2 separate regions of the Homo sapiens genome follow, and region 1 is linked to region 2. Evidence: promoter capture Hi-C in human tissues and cell types (Jung and others, 2019). All regions are on one chromosome and are shown on one strand. The core of a region is centred on a gene start or on the middle of the fragment in contact, and the rest is flanking DNA. Distances in the headings are between cores, read along the strand shown.

Region 1 (6,505 bases), core at 1,786-4,285, 130 kb before region 2:
TTTTCCAGTACTTGGGATTGTCAGGGTTTTCTTTTTAGCAGTTCTAATCGGTATGTAATGGTATTTCATTTGATTTTAGTTTGCATTTCCTTGATGCAAGTCAGTCTTTTTTTTTCTGAGACAGAGTCTCGCTCTGTCACCCAGGTTGGACTGTAGTGGTATAATCTCCGCCCACTGCAACCTCTGCCTCCAGGAACTCACAAGTCATTCTTTGTTTTTGCTTTTGTTTGTTTGTTTGTTTGTTTGTTTGTTTTTGAGACAGTTTCACTCTTGGATCCCAGGCTGGAGAGCAGTGGTGCGATCTTGGCTCACTGCAACCTCTGCCTTCTGGGTTCAAGCGATTCTCCTGCCTCAGCCTCCCGAGTAGCTGGGATTACAGGTGCCTGCCACCATGCCCGGGTAATTTTTGTATTTTTAGTAGAGATGGGGTTTCACCATGTTTGCCAGGTTGGTCTTGAACTTCTGACCTCAAGTGATCCACCTGCCTCGGTCTCCCAAAGTGCTGGGATTACAGGTGTGAGCCACCATGCCCAGCCACAAGTCATTCTTTTTTAATAAACAAGGCTTGTCTGGAGATGCAAGGATTCAAAATTTAGGGACCCTTGTGTGGAAACTAAAGTGGGTCTTTGGTGAAGAATTTGCTGGAAACAGTTATATGGTCTGCTGGCTTTGCTGTATTGAGATGGTGAGATCTTTCTCTGCCCCAGGTCTGCAGAGAACTGCAGTTCTTCCTTCTGGTCAGGAGAGGGCAGGAGAAGGCAGAAAATAAGCTGCCCCCGCTTCACTTTTTTTTTTTTTTTTTTTTTTTTTGGTTTACCAGTCCCCGGCATCTAGAGTATTCGCATTTGCATGCATTATTATATTCATAGTTTTGCTCGAAAGTTTGCCTTTTCCTCTGAACCTAGTTAGCTGCTGCCTTGTGAGGCTTGATTCCCCAATATTAACTTTGTGGACTGATTTAATGCCAAACTTAACCAATCTTATAAAATCTTCGCCTGCCAAAGCATAACTAACCTAATTTAAGAATTGAACTACCCAAACTGAGCTACCTCTGTAGAATCCTTGCTAAGTCTATTCTCCAGTGTCACCCCACAGAGCTTGTGTTAGGGGCAACCATGAGCAGCTGAGCTGCATGAACCCCTGGTCCTCCTCTTTTCTAACTTTGCAGGAACCAAAAGAGACTGAGGAAGGACTTCATGGGGGACAGGCCTCCAGACCCCCAGTGGCTACAGGCCATCCTCCCTAGGACCAGGGCTGGGGCTGCTCAGGCGGGGCACTGCGCAGATCTCCTGGGGCTGGGGTTGCCAAGTGCCGCCAAAGATGTACTCCAGCTTGAGCCCCGGGCTCCCTTCTGGCAGTTGGAACCGAAAGGTCCTGAGGAGGGTGGCAAACATCAGGAAGAGCTCCATTTGAGCCAGCTGGTCTGCTGGGTAGACACGATGCCCTGGAAACAGAGAGAAAAGTCAGAGGTGGCAGCTGTCCCTGTGTCTGTCCCACCACAGCCCCACCCACCACCCAGGATCCAGCTCTGTGCCTAGTACCTGCAGAGAATGGCAGGAAGGCCTCATTGGCCACAAAGTTTCCATCCTTGTCCGAGAAGTGGCCAGGGTTGAACTGTCGAGGGGTCTCCCAGCACTCAGGGTCATAGAGCACAGAGGCCAGGTTGGGTAAGATGATGGTGCCCTGCAGAGAGATGCTGGTGTGGCTCAGGGAGCCTCAGATGGTACCCAGTACCCAGCCCTGACACTGAGCCACAGTGAGCTTGGAGAATACCCAGTGTGTTGGTGGGAGTAGTCCAGGGGCCTTGAGGAGACTCAGCAGCCGGCCCTCAGGCTGCCCTTCCTCCAGGCTCACATCAGTGAAGGAGCTGAGCAGGACACCCTCCTGGCTAAGGACTGCCCAGCTTTGTCCTGAAGACTCCCAGCCACGTCTAGGGACATGAAGCCATTGCCTCCTACAGAGAAGGCCAACAGCTGGGGGCATGTCTGGAAGGGGCCAAGGACAGCCCAGGACAATACACACTGGGGCAGGGGATGTGTGCACACGTGGGTGTTAAGAGGAAGAGACAGAACGAGGAGAAATGGAATGGCAAACAAGCAGAGAAAGAGGAACTGAGTGATGGAAAGACAGAGAGGAGACAGCAAGCTTCACTCTTTAGGGTTGGGGAGAGGAAAACATGAACCATAAGCCCAACTCTAACCTTCAACCTAACCCCAACCCTCACCTTCCCCCAAACCCAAACCCAAATCTTCCCTCTCACCCTCACCTCAGCCCTCACTCTATCTCAAAGGAGAAGTGAGTGATTAGAAAGAGAATCAGACCAAGCAGATGGGAGCAGGGTAACATCTGCTCCTTACCATGTGGGCCCTGGGCTGACCGGAAACAGCATAAGGAGGCCAAAGTGGAGCCAGGATGGGGTCGGTTATGGTCCCCAGCCCTAGAACACTCAGCTCTGGGATTCCGGGGAAGGCCTCATACCCCAGGGCTCATTTACCAAATACCACAAAATTAAACCAGCTATCCCTGTAGAGACCAGAGGGCTGACTACAGAATTCTTGATTCTGACCAAAGAAAAAGCTTGAAATTAAAAAAAAAAAAAAAAGCTTAGCGAGTTTGAAGCCTGCATTCTAAACAGAAACCAATAAAGAATGCAGAAATGGAGCAGCAGATGCTGGCTGGTCGCAGTGGCTCACACCTGTAATCCCAGCACTTTGGGAGGCCAATCAGGGCGGATCGCTTGAGGTCAGGAGTTTGAGACCAGCCTGGCCAACACGGTGAAACCCCATCTCTACTAAAAATACAAAAATTAGTCGGGCGTGGTGGCAAGTGCCTATAGTCTCAGCTACTCGGGAGGCTGAGGCAGGCAAAGGTTGTAGTGAGCCAAGATCACGCCTCTGCATTCCAGCCTGGGCGACAGAGCAAGATTCCATCTAAAAAAACAAAACAACAACAACAAAAAAAAAAACAGAATGCAGAAATTGTTTTCAGGGGAAATTGTTCTTTTTTGCCGTTGTTGCAGTACGGCACGCTTAGGCAAGGTGCCTCATCCTAGCCATGTGTACCAATAGGGCACCCAGACTTGCTCACTCTGTAGCTTCAAGCAGAGGTGTTGGGGAGGCCTGTGTTCTTGCTGCTGCCTGAGTGAGCTATAGATTTCCCAGTTCTAGTCATGGGAATTCCCCCATTTTCTCTACCTGGGATTAAGTAACCTCTGCATTGCAACGGTTCTTACTAATCACCTTCAGAGGAGGAGGCTCCTAGCAAGATGCTCTTTTCCCTCCAGAATTATTTGTGTCCTTTTTTGGGTGATGTTCTGGCCTCCTTGCAAAGGAGGTTCTCAGCTCATGGAACAGGTTCAGAGCACAGCCTATCCAGTATGCAAAAAGGACAGCGCCCCGCCCCCCGCAACAACCGCCCTCCACTTCCCCAGACTGTAGAACCATCTACCTGCTGGGTACCTCCTGGGGTCGCTGTGCCAGCTTCTGCCCAGTAAATGGCAATTTGGAATTCGCAATCAAATAGAATGTCTGAGAAGAGAGACAGGCTGGAAGTGCAACCGTCGTATCAGGGACTATTGCTGTTGTCACGATCACTCAGCTGATGAAATGGTTAGGAACAGTTTAGGAATATCTGTAACATTTAATGATCTACTGTCAAGCTTTGATTCCACTTTCAGCAGACATCTCTCGTCCAAGTTGTAAAAGCTCAATATTGATTTCAGCTCGTTAATGGGCCCCTGGAGCCTTTATCACAGAACAAGTCCTAGAATCAAATTGGCAGGAATGAGCTCTTAATAAGGAAATTTCTAATCCCAAACGGCATAACACAGAGCAGTACCCTGGCCCCCTCTTTTTAACTTAAGTTGGCACAGCTTCTAGACAACCTGGGCCTGGGTCCTTCTGCCACGCCAGCAGCAAGATGACCTGATGCCCTGGTCCTATCCACTTTCCCAGAGACTCTTGACAAACCTGTAAACTTGCTGGCCAATTTCTGCCAAGGACAGAATGACAGTGTAAAACATCTCCATTGAACACATTGGTTCACTTACCTAGAGTGGCATTTTCGTATAAATACAAACAGCAGGGCATATGGTAGGAAAAGAAAACACTTTAGAGTCAGAGGGACATGCATTTGAAACTCAGCTAAGTCACTTACTAGCTGTGTTTGGGCAGTTTCTTAAGCTGCCTATGCTGAAGTTTCTCTATCTATGGAAAAGAAACAGCAACAAAGCGTCCGAAGGATAGGGCTTCTGTGAAGAAAAAAATCTGTGGAGGAAGGAACCTCAAGTCTGGGCAAATTAATAATAAGTTAATAATGGGGCTGGGCATGGCGGCTTATGCCTGTAATCCCAGCACTTTGAGAGGCAGAGGCAGGAGTTCAAGACCAGCCTGGCCAACCTGGTGAAACCCCGTCTTTACTACAAATTAAAAAAAAAATAAAAATAATAAAAATTAGCTGGACGTGGTGGCACGTGCCTGTAATACCAGCTACTTGGGAGGATGAGGTGGGAGAATTGCTTGAGCCCCGGAGGTGGAGGCTGCAGTGAGCTGAGATCACACCACTGTACTCCAGGGCAGTACTCGGGGCAGAGCCAAAGCTCCTTTCCGAGGAAAGTCTCAGGGCTCCCGCCACCACCTCTATGTACAGAGGCATCACCCTGCACCAGGGCACCAAGATGAGTCGCTCTGTTTCATTTTCATTAAAATGGCAACCTCACCACCTACACATGTTGGTATGTTACCTGTTGCGGGAAGTCAGGGACCCCGAACGGAGGGACTGGCTGAAGCCATGGCAGAAGAACCTGGATTGTGAAGATTTCACGGACATTTATTAGTTCCCCAAATTAATACTTTTATAATTTCTTATGCCTGTCTTTACTGCAATCTCTAAACATAAATTGTAAAGATTTCATGGACACTTATCACTTCCCCAGTCAATACCCTTGTGATTTCCTATGCCTGTCTTTACTTTAATCTCTTAATCCTGTCAGCTGAGGAGGATGTATGTTGCCTCAGAACCTTGTGATAATTGCATTAACTGCACAAATTGTAGAGCATGTCTGTTTAAATGATATGAAATCTGGGCACCTTGAAAAAAGAACAGGATAACAGCAATTGTTCAGGGAATACGAGAGATAACCTTAAACTCTGACCACCGATGAGCCGGGTGGAACAGAGCCATATTTCTCTTCTTTCAAAAGCAAATGGGAGAAATATCACTGAATTCTTTTTCTCAGCAAGGAAGATCCCTGGGAAAGAGAATACGCGCCTGGGGGTATAGGCCTATAAACGGCCCCCCTAGGTGTGCCTGTCTCTTATGGTCGAGGCTATAGGGGTGAAATAGACCCCAGTCTCCCATAGCACTCCCAGGCTTATTAGGAAGAGGAAATTCCCGCCTAATAAATTTTTGGTCAGACCAGTTGCTCTCAAAACCCTGTCTCCTGATAAGATGTTATCAATGACCATGGTGCCCGAAACTTCATTAGCAATTTTAATTTTGCCCCAGTCCTGTGGTCCTGTGATCTTGCCCTGCCTCCACTTGCCTTGTGATATTCCATTACCTTGTAAAGTACTTGATGTCTGTGACCCACACCTATTTGCACATTCCCTCCCCTTTTGAAAATCCCTAATAAAAACTTGCTGGTTTTTGCGGCTTGTGGGGCATCACGGAACCCACCGACACGTGATGTCTCCCCCAGACGCCCAGCTTTAAAATTTCTCTCTTTTGTACTCGTCCCTTTATTTCTCAAGCTGGCCGACGCTTAGGAAAAACAGAAAAGAACCTACGTGACTATCGGGACAGATTCCCCGATAGTTACCCCAGTTAGCCTTGACTCCCAGGATACACACCTTTGTGTAATCCCCTCCCCTTGAGGATAGGATGGATTTAGTAACTCACTTCTAACAAATAGAAAATGGGCCAGACGCAGTGGCTCATGCATGGAATCCCAGCACTCTGGAAGGCCAAGGTGGGAGGATCACTTGAGCCCAGGAATTTGAGACCAACCTAGGCAACATGGTGAAACCCCATCTCTACCAAAAATTTAAAAATTAGCCCATTGTGGTGGCACAATGTGGTGCCTGTAGTTCCAGCTACTCAGGCAGCTGAGGTGGGAGGATCACCCAAGCCTGGGAGGTTGAGGCTGCAGTGAGCTATTATTGTGTCCCTTCACTCCAACCCAGGCAACAGAGGGAGACACTGTCTCAAACCAACAACAACAACAACAACAAACCCAACAAATAGAATATGGCAAAAGCGGCCGGGTGCGGTGGCTCACACCCGTAATCCCAGCACCTTGGTAGGCTGAGGCAGGCCAATCACTCGAGGTCAGGAGTTCAAGACCAGCCTGGCCAACATGGTAAACTCCATCTCTACTAAAATATACAAAAATTAGCCAGGCATGGTGGCACATGCCTGTAATCACAGCTACTCGGGAGGCTGAGGCAGGAGAATTGCTTGAGCCCAGGAGGCAGAGGCTGCACTGAGCTGAGATTGCACCACTGCA
Region 2 (6,553 bases), core at 2,519-5,018:
CAGGAACTGGGGTTGCTGCAGTGAACCCAGACATTTTAAGTTCAGAATATTCCATTTAGGCTGAAGCAACCTGGGCGATCTTAGGCTGGACAGGATAACCGTTACTGCCATTTTTACTGTTATTTCTGCTTCAATTTACTGCTATTAATTGCTTAAGATGGGCAAGGCACTATACATATATTATCTCAAACCACATAAGACTCCTGCAAGATAGATTTTACCCTCCCAATTTTAGAGATAAGGAAACTGAGGCTGAGAGGGTGACGTGATTCTTGTAGAAAGAATTTGGTCTTAGACATTTCTTAATACATTGTGCTACCTCAATCTGTAAACCTTCATTGAGGCGACTGCTCTCTCTTTGCTCTGTAAGCCACTTATTACTTTCCCTAAAGCCTTCCCTGCCAGAAATAATTCTAGAATAAAACAGGTTAAACCACTGATGACCTTGGCCCAATTAATCTTATCATGTCTGGCTTCCATCATGAACCAATTAATTACATACATTAATCTGATAAGACCTATGATTACCTACACATGGAATGGTATTTTGAAATTACTTCCCAAGGCTATTTAAGAATCACTATTATAAAGACACATGCATGCATGTGTTCACCACAGCACTATTCACAATAGCAAAGACATGAAATTGACCTAAATGCCCATCAATGATAGACTGGATAAAGAAAATGTGGTACACACACCATGGAATACTATGCAGCCATAAAAAGGAATGAGTTCATGTCCTTTGCAGGACCATGGATGGAGCTGGGGGCCATTATCCTTAGCAAACTAACACAGGAACAGAAAACCAAGTACTGCATGTTCTCACTTATAAGTACCAACTAAATGATGAGAACACATGGACACATAGAGGGGAACAACACACACTGAGGCCTATCAGAGGGTGGAGGGTGGGAGGAGGGAGAGGATCAGGAAAAATAACTAATGGGTACTAGGCTTAATACCTGGGTGATGAAATCATCTGTACAACAAACCCCCACGACACAAGTTTACCTATATAACAAATCTGCACATGTACCCCTGAACTTAAAAGTCAAAAAAAGAGGCTGGGCGCGGTGGCTCATGCCTGTAATCCCAACACTTTGGGAGGCCAAGGCGGGTGGATCATGAGGTCAGGAGATCGAGACCATCCTGGCTAACATGGTGAAACCCCATCTCTACTAAAAATACTAAAAATTAGCCATGCGTGGTGGTGGGCGCCTGTAGTCCCAGCTACTTGGGAGGCTGAGGCAGGAGAATGGCGTGAACCCGGGAGGCGGAGCTTGCAGTGAGCAGAGATCTCGCCACTGCACTCCACCCTGGGCGACAGAGCAAGGCTCCATCTCAAAAAAAAAAAAAAGTTAAAAAAAGAATCACAAAAGAAATTCTTAACATTGAAAGCCAAAGTCAAACACCTACAGAGGCCAACCAGGTAACATAAATGAGGAGAGCTGCTCAGGAATAAGACAGGAGGGGTGATGGAGACTGTGGTGATCTAGAGTGAGTATGAACCATCCAAAGGGTTTCACTACTTCTGAGCTTTGGCAGATTGTTGTCAAGCAGAAACGTGAGCCTCATGTTGCTAGATCTTATTTTTCAAATGAAGCCAGAAACAGTTTTTATGTGAAATCTCAATGTTTAAGTGTTACACAACTAACTTTAAAAAAAGAAAAAAAAAACACTAGCAGGGCCAAAAATAACATAAACTTTCAGGCTAATAGCTCATGACCTTTTCTTTAAAATCATAAGTCAGCAGCTGGGCGTGGTGGCTCATGCATGTAATCCCAGCACTTTGGGAGGCCAAGGCAGGCAGATCACCTAAGTTTGGGAGTTTGAGACCAGCCTGACCAACATGGAGAAACCCCATCTCTACTAAAACAAAACACAAAAAATACAAAAAAATTAGCTGGGCGTCAGCCATCCCATTACTGGGTATATACCCAAAGGATTATAAATCATGCTGCTATAAAGACACATGCACATGTATGTTTATTGCAGCATTATTCACAATAGCAAAGACTTGGAACTAACCCAAATGTCCATCAATGATAGACTGGATTAAGAAAATGTGGCACATATATATCATGGAATACTATGCAGCCATAAAAAAGGATGAGTTCATGTCCTTTGTAGGGACATGGATGAAGCTGGAAACCATCATTCTGAGAAAACGAGCGAGGACAGAAAACCAAACACTGCATGTTCCCACTCATAGGTGGGAATTGAACAATGAGAACACTTGGACACAGGGTGGGGAACATTACACACTGGGGCCTGTCATGGGGTGGGGGGAGCGGGGAGGGATAGCAATAGGAGATATACCTAATGTAAATGACGAGTTAATGGGTGCAGCACACCAACATGGCACATGTATACATATGTAACAAACCTGCACGTTGTGCACATGTACCCTAGAACTTAAAGTATAATAAAAAAATGAAAAAAAAATTATCTGGGCTTTGTGGTGCATGCCTGTAATTCCAGCTACTCGGGAGGCTGAGGCAGGATAATCGCTTGAACCCGGGAGGCAGAGGTTGTGGTGGGCCAAGATCGCGCCATTGCACTCCAGCCTGGGCAGCAAGAGAGAAACTCCATTTAAAAAAAAAAATCATAAGTCAGCTTTTATTTTAAAAAAGTATTACCTCTGCCACCACCCCCTACTCCACTAATCACTCCCTTCATTGGGTAGACCTGGGTCCAGATTGCTTTTGAAACACTAAAAAGGCATAGCAAATCAGCTTTGAGAAGAGGAAGCAGAAATATGTCATCACTGGAGCAGTGCTAATGGCTTCCTCATACTTTAAAGTCTTAACTATACTGAAGTCATGTTTAAAACCTCAGTGTATGAAGTTGCTTATATTAATAGGGACCCCCCTCCCCCCAACACGCTTTCTTTTTTGAAAGATGGCAGTAGGGGGCCGGGCATGGTAGCTCACGCTTGTAATTCCAGCACTTTGGGAGCCAAGGTGGGCAGATCACCTGAGGTCAGGAGTTTGAGGCCAGCCAACCAACATGGTAAAACCTCGTCTCTACTAAAAATACAAAAACTTAGCCAGGCATGGTGGCAGGCGCCTGTAATCACAGCTACTTGGGAGGCTGAGGCAGGAGAATCGATTGAACCCGGGAGGCGGAGGTTGCAGTGAGCCAAGACTGCACCATTGCACTCCAGCCTGGGAGACAGAGGGAGACTCCGTCGCAAAAAAAAAAAAGGAAGGGAGGGAGGGAGGGAGAAAGAGAGAGAGAGGGAGGGAGGGAGAGAGAGAGAGAGAGAGAGAGAAGGAAAGAAAGAAAAAAGAAAGAAAAAGAGAAAGAGAAAGAAAGAGAAAGAAAGAAAAAGAAAGAGAAAAGAAAGAAAGAAAGAAGAAAGGAAAAGAAAAGAAAGAAAGATGACAGCAGGGTCTAACAAGTTCACGTGCCACCTGGAGGCAGTGGTAGTCATCCATGCCTTCTCGGTGAGGCACTGTACGCCAGAGTGACTTTAAAGTATGAGGAAGCCATTAGCACTGCTCCAGGGACCACATATTTTTGCTTCCTCTTCTCCAAACTGATTTGCCATATTACTTTTGGAGGCTAGATTCAGGCCCAGTTAAAGCACAGGGTGAGTTATTCCTCTGTGACATTCTTTTGTCACCAAGGGGTCTTGTTAGAGAGGCGGTTAATGCCAGCTGATATATATATTATTCAAAGGTAGGGCTCAAGGTGTGATCTGAGGTTTTTTAAAGGTTAACATCATCATCAAGTACCCAGAGAAGTGCCAAAGAGAGGAAGATGGAAAGAGGCTGGTTCCATGGGAAAGGATTCCTCCTTGGCTTCATCCTCCACCTGCTGCTGCAAGTACCTTAAGATAAGAGCAAGAGCTGAGCAGACATGTAACTCCTGGGAAGCAGAGAAAACAGGCTAATATTTTTTATTCTGAGATAGTCAATGATTGGATGTTCGTTATGGTAAAAATGATGCTCGTGACACTGATGGCTTTGTACCTCTTCCTAGGATCCTAATATTTAGTTAACTCTTTTCTCTTCTTTTTTTTTTTTTTTTTGAGATGGAGTCTCGCTCTGTTACCCAGGCTAGAGTGCAGTGGCAATATCTCAGCCCATTGCAACCTTCACCTCCCAGGTTCAAACGATCTCATGCCTCAGCCTCCCAAGTAGCTGGGATTACAGGCACCTGCCACCGTGCCTGGCTAATTTTTGTATTTTTAGTAGAGATGGGGTTTCACCATGTTGGCCAGGCTGGTCTTGAATGCCTGTCCTCAGGTGATCTGCCCGCGTGGGCCTCCCAAAGTGTTGGGATTACAGGCGTGAGCCCCTGAGCCCAGCCTGGGAACTCTTTAAGATAATCCTAGTGATGAAGACTACTAAATGTTAGAACAATCACAGCACATAGTAAAGACACAGTAAATACTCATCAAATTGAAAAACTGAAATTGATTTGTTTCCTTAAGATCCCATATATCTCACACTACCTATCTGATTACTCCCCTTATCATTAATTTATTAGCATCTATGCCATATTAATACAGCGAGGCGGAGAACTGTGAGTGCAAAATTTGTCACTGACATCACCCACATGGCTCCAGGTTGGAGGTAAGCAAGAGAAGGACACTGGCAGAAGGTGGAGAGGTTGCAGTGAGATTGTTAAGGACATGGCAGGACACTGTAAAGTGGCGGTCGGGGTTGAGTTTGCATACACATCTGGACAGGTTTTGCATGGGGACAAAACAATGGCACTGAGGATGGATCCTTGACTCAGCTCACCTCATCAGTTTCCACCATTTGCCTACCAGCTCAGCCTACTCTTCCTGGACCAGGAAGGAGGAGCTCACATGCTTCTCCCAGTGCCCCCTGTTTTCTCTCCATGCAGAAACACTCTCCAGGCCCCCCAGCCCTGGCCCTCCTCTCTCAGTCTCTGCTCACTACAGGAAATGGCGACACTTTGATTATCAATTGCCCAGGCTTTGGCCAGCACAGGGTGGACCCTGCAGCCTTTCAAGCAGTGTTTGACAGAAAGGCTATTGGTCCAGTCACCAACTACAGTGTCGCCACTCATGTCAACATCTCCTTCACCTTGTCTGCCATCTGGAAGTTGTAAGTCCTCACCCAACATTGCAGTGGTCTAGTGGTGAGCAGTGGACCCTCTGACTGGATTTTTTTTTTTTTTTTTTGAGATGGAGTCTTGCTCTTGTCACCCAGGCTGGAGTGCAGTGGTGCAATCTCAGCTCACTGCAACCTCTGCCTCCCAGTTTCAAGCGATTCTCCTGCCTCAGCCTCCGGCACGTGCTGCCCCACCCAGCTAATTTTTGTATTTTTAGTAGAGACAGGGTTTCACCATGTTGGCCAGGCTGGTCTCAAATTCCTGACCTCAGGTGATCCACCTGCCTTGGTCTCCCAAAGTTCTGGGATTACAGGCATGAGCCACCGTGCCTGGCCCTTTGATTGGATTTTGTAAAATTAGTTACTCACAACAAAAAAATCAAACAACCCAATTCAAAAATGGGCAAAGGACTTGAATAGACATTTCTGCAAAGAAGAAATACAAACAGCCAATAAGCACAAGAAAAGGTGTATGTTCAATGTTACTAATAGTTAAGAAAATGCAGATCAAAGCTACAGTAAGATATCTCACACCCACTAGGATGGCTAGTATTAAAAAACAAACAGAAGCTGGGCGAGGTGGCTCATGCCTGTAATCTCAGCACTTTGGGAGGCTGAGGCGGGTAGATCACGTGAGGTCAGGAGTTCAAGACCAGCCTGACCAACTTGGTGAAACCCCATCTCTACTAAAAATACAAAAATTAGCTGGGCGTGTTGGTGGGCACCTGTAATCCCAGCTAGTCGGGAGGAGGAGACAGGAGAATTGCTTGAACCCAGGAGGCAGAGGTTGCAGACAGCCAAGATTGTGCCACTGCACTCTAGCCTGGGTGACAGAGCAAGACTCTGTCTCAAAAAAACAAAACAAAACAAAATTAAAAAACCAGAAAATAACAAGTGTTGGTGATAATGTGGAGAAATTGGAACCCTTGTGCACTGCTTGTGAGGATGTAAAATTGTGTAGCCACTGTGGAAAAACAGTATGGCTTTTTCTCAAAATATTAAAAATAGAATTACCATACAACCAAATAATTATACTTCTGGATAAATACCCGAAAAAAGTGAAAACGGGGTATTTGTACACTTATGTTCATAGCAGAATTACTCACAATAGTTAAAACTCAGAAGCAGTCTAAGTGTCTATTGACAGATGAATGGACAGATTAAATGTGGTATGTACTTACAATGGAATACTATGCAGCCTTCAAATGGAACAAAATTCTAACACATGCCACAATGTGGATAAGCTGTGAGGCCATTATGCTAAGTGAAATAAGTCAGTCACAAAAAGACAAATAGTGTATTTGTCTAATTTTATAGAGACAGAAAGTAGAATAGCTGTTGCCAGGGGTTGGAGAGAGGGTGAAATAGGGAATTACTGTTTAACGGGTGTAGAGTTTCCATTTTGCAAGAAGAAAAGAGCTCTGGTGATGGAGGGTGGTGGCTGGACAACAGTGTGAATG

The links. The method cuts DNA at HindIII sites, captures the fragments that hold promoters and counts their contacts. A contact is called where the count stands out against the background at its distance.
Region 1: a fragment that was not itself captured here is called in contact with the fragment with the promoter of HTR3D in region 2 in 2 of the 25 tissues and cell types used here (IMR-90 fibroblasts and aorta).

The regions. Positions count from the first base shown.
Region 1 is chr3:183,894,674-183,901,178 of GRCh38, forward strand. It overlaps the pseudogene CYP2AB1P. Among named protein-coding and RNA genes, the nearest start is that of MIR4448, 11 kb to the left of the region's middle. The HindIII fragment of the contact is 5,560 bases long and covers 256-5,815 here.
Region 2 is chr3:184,027,974-184,034,526 of GRCh38, forward strand. HTR3D (5-hydroxytryptamine receptor 3D) reads left to right here and starts at 3,769. Exons shown (of 8, transcript NM_001145143.1): 1 at 3,769-3,834. The coding sequence starts at 3,769. The HindIII fragment of the contact is 22,402 bases long and covers 1-6,553 here.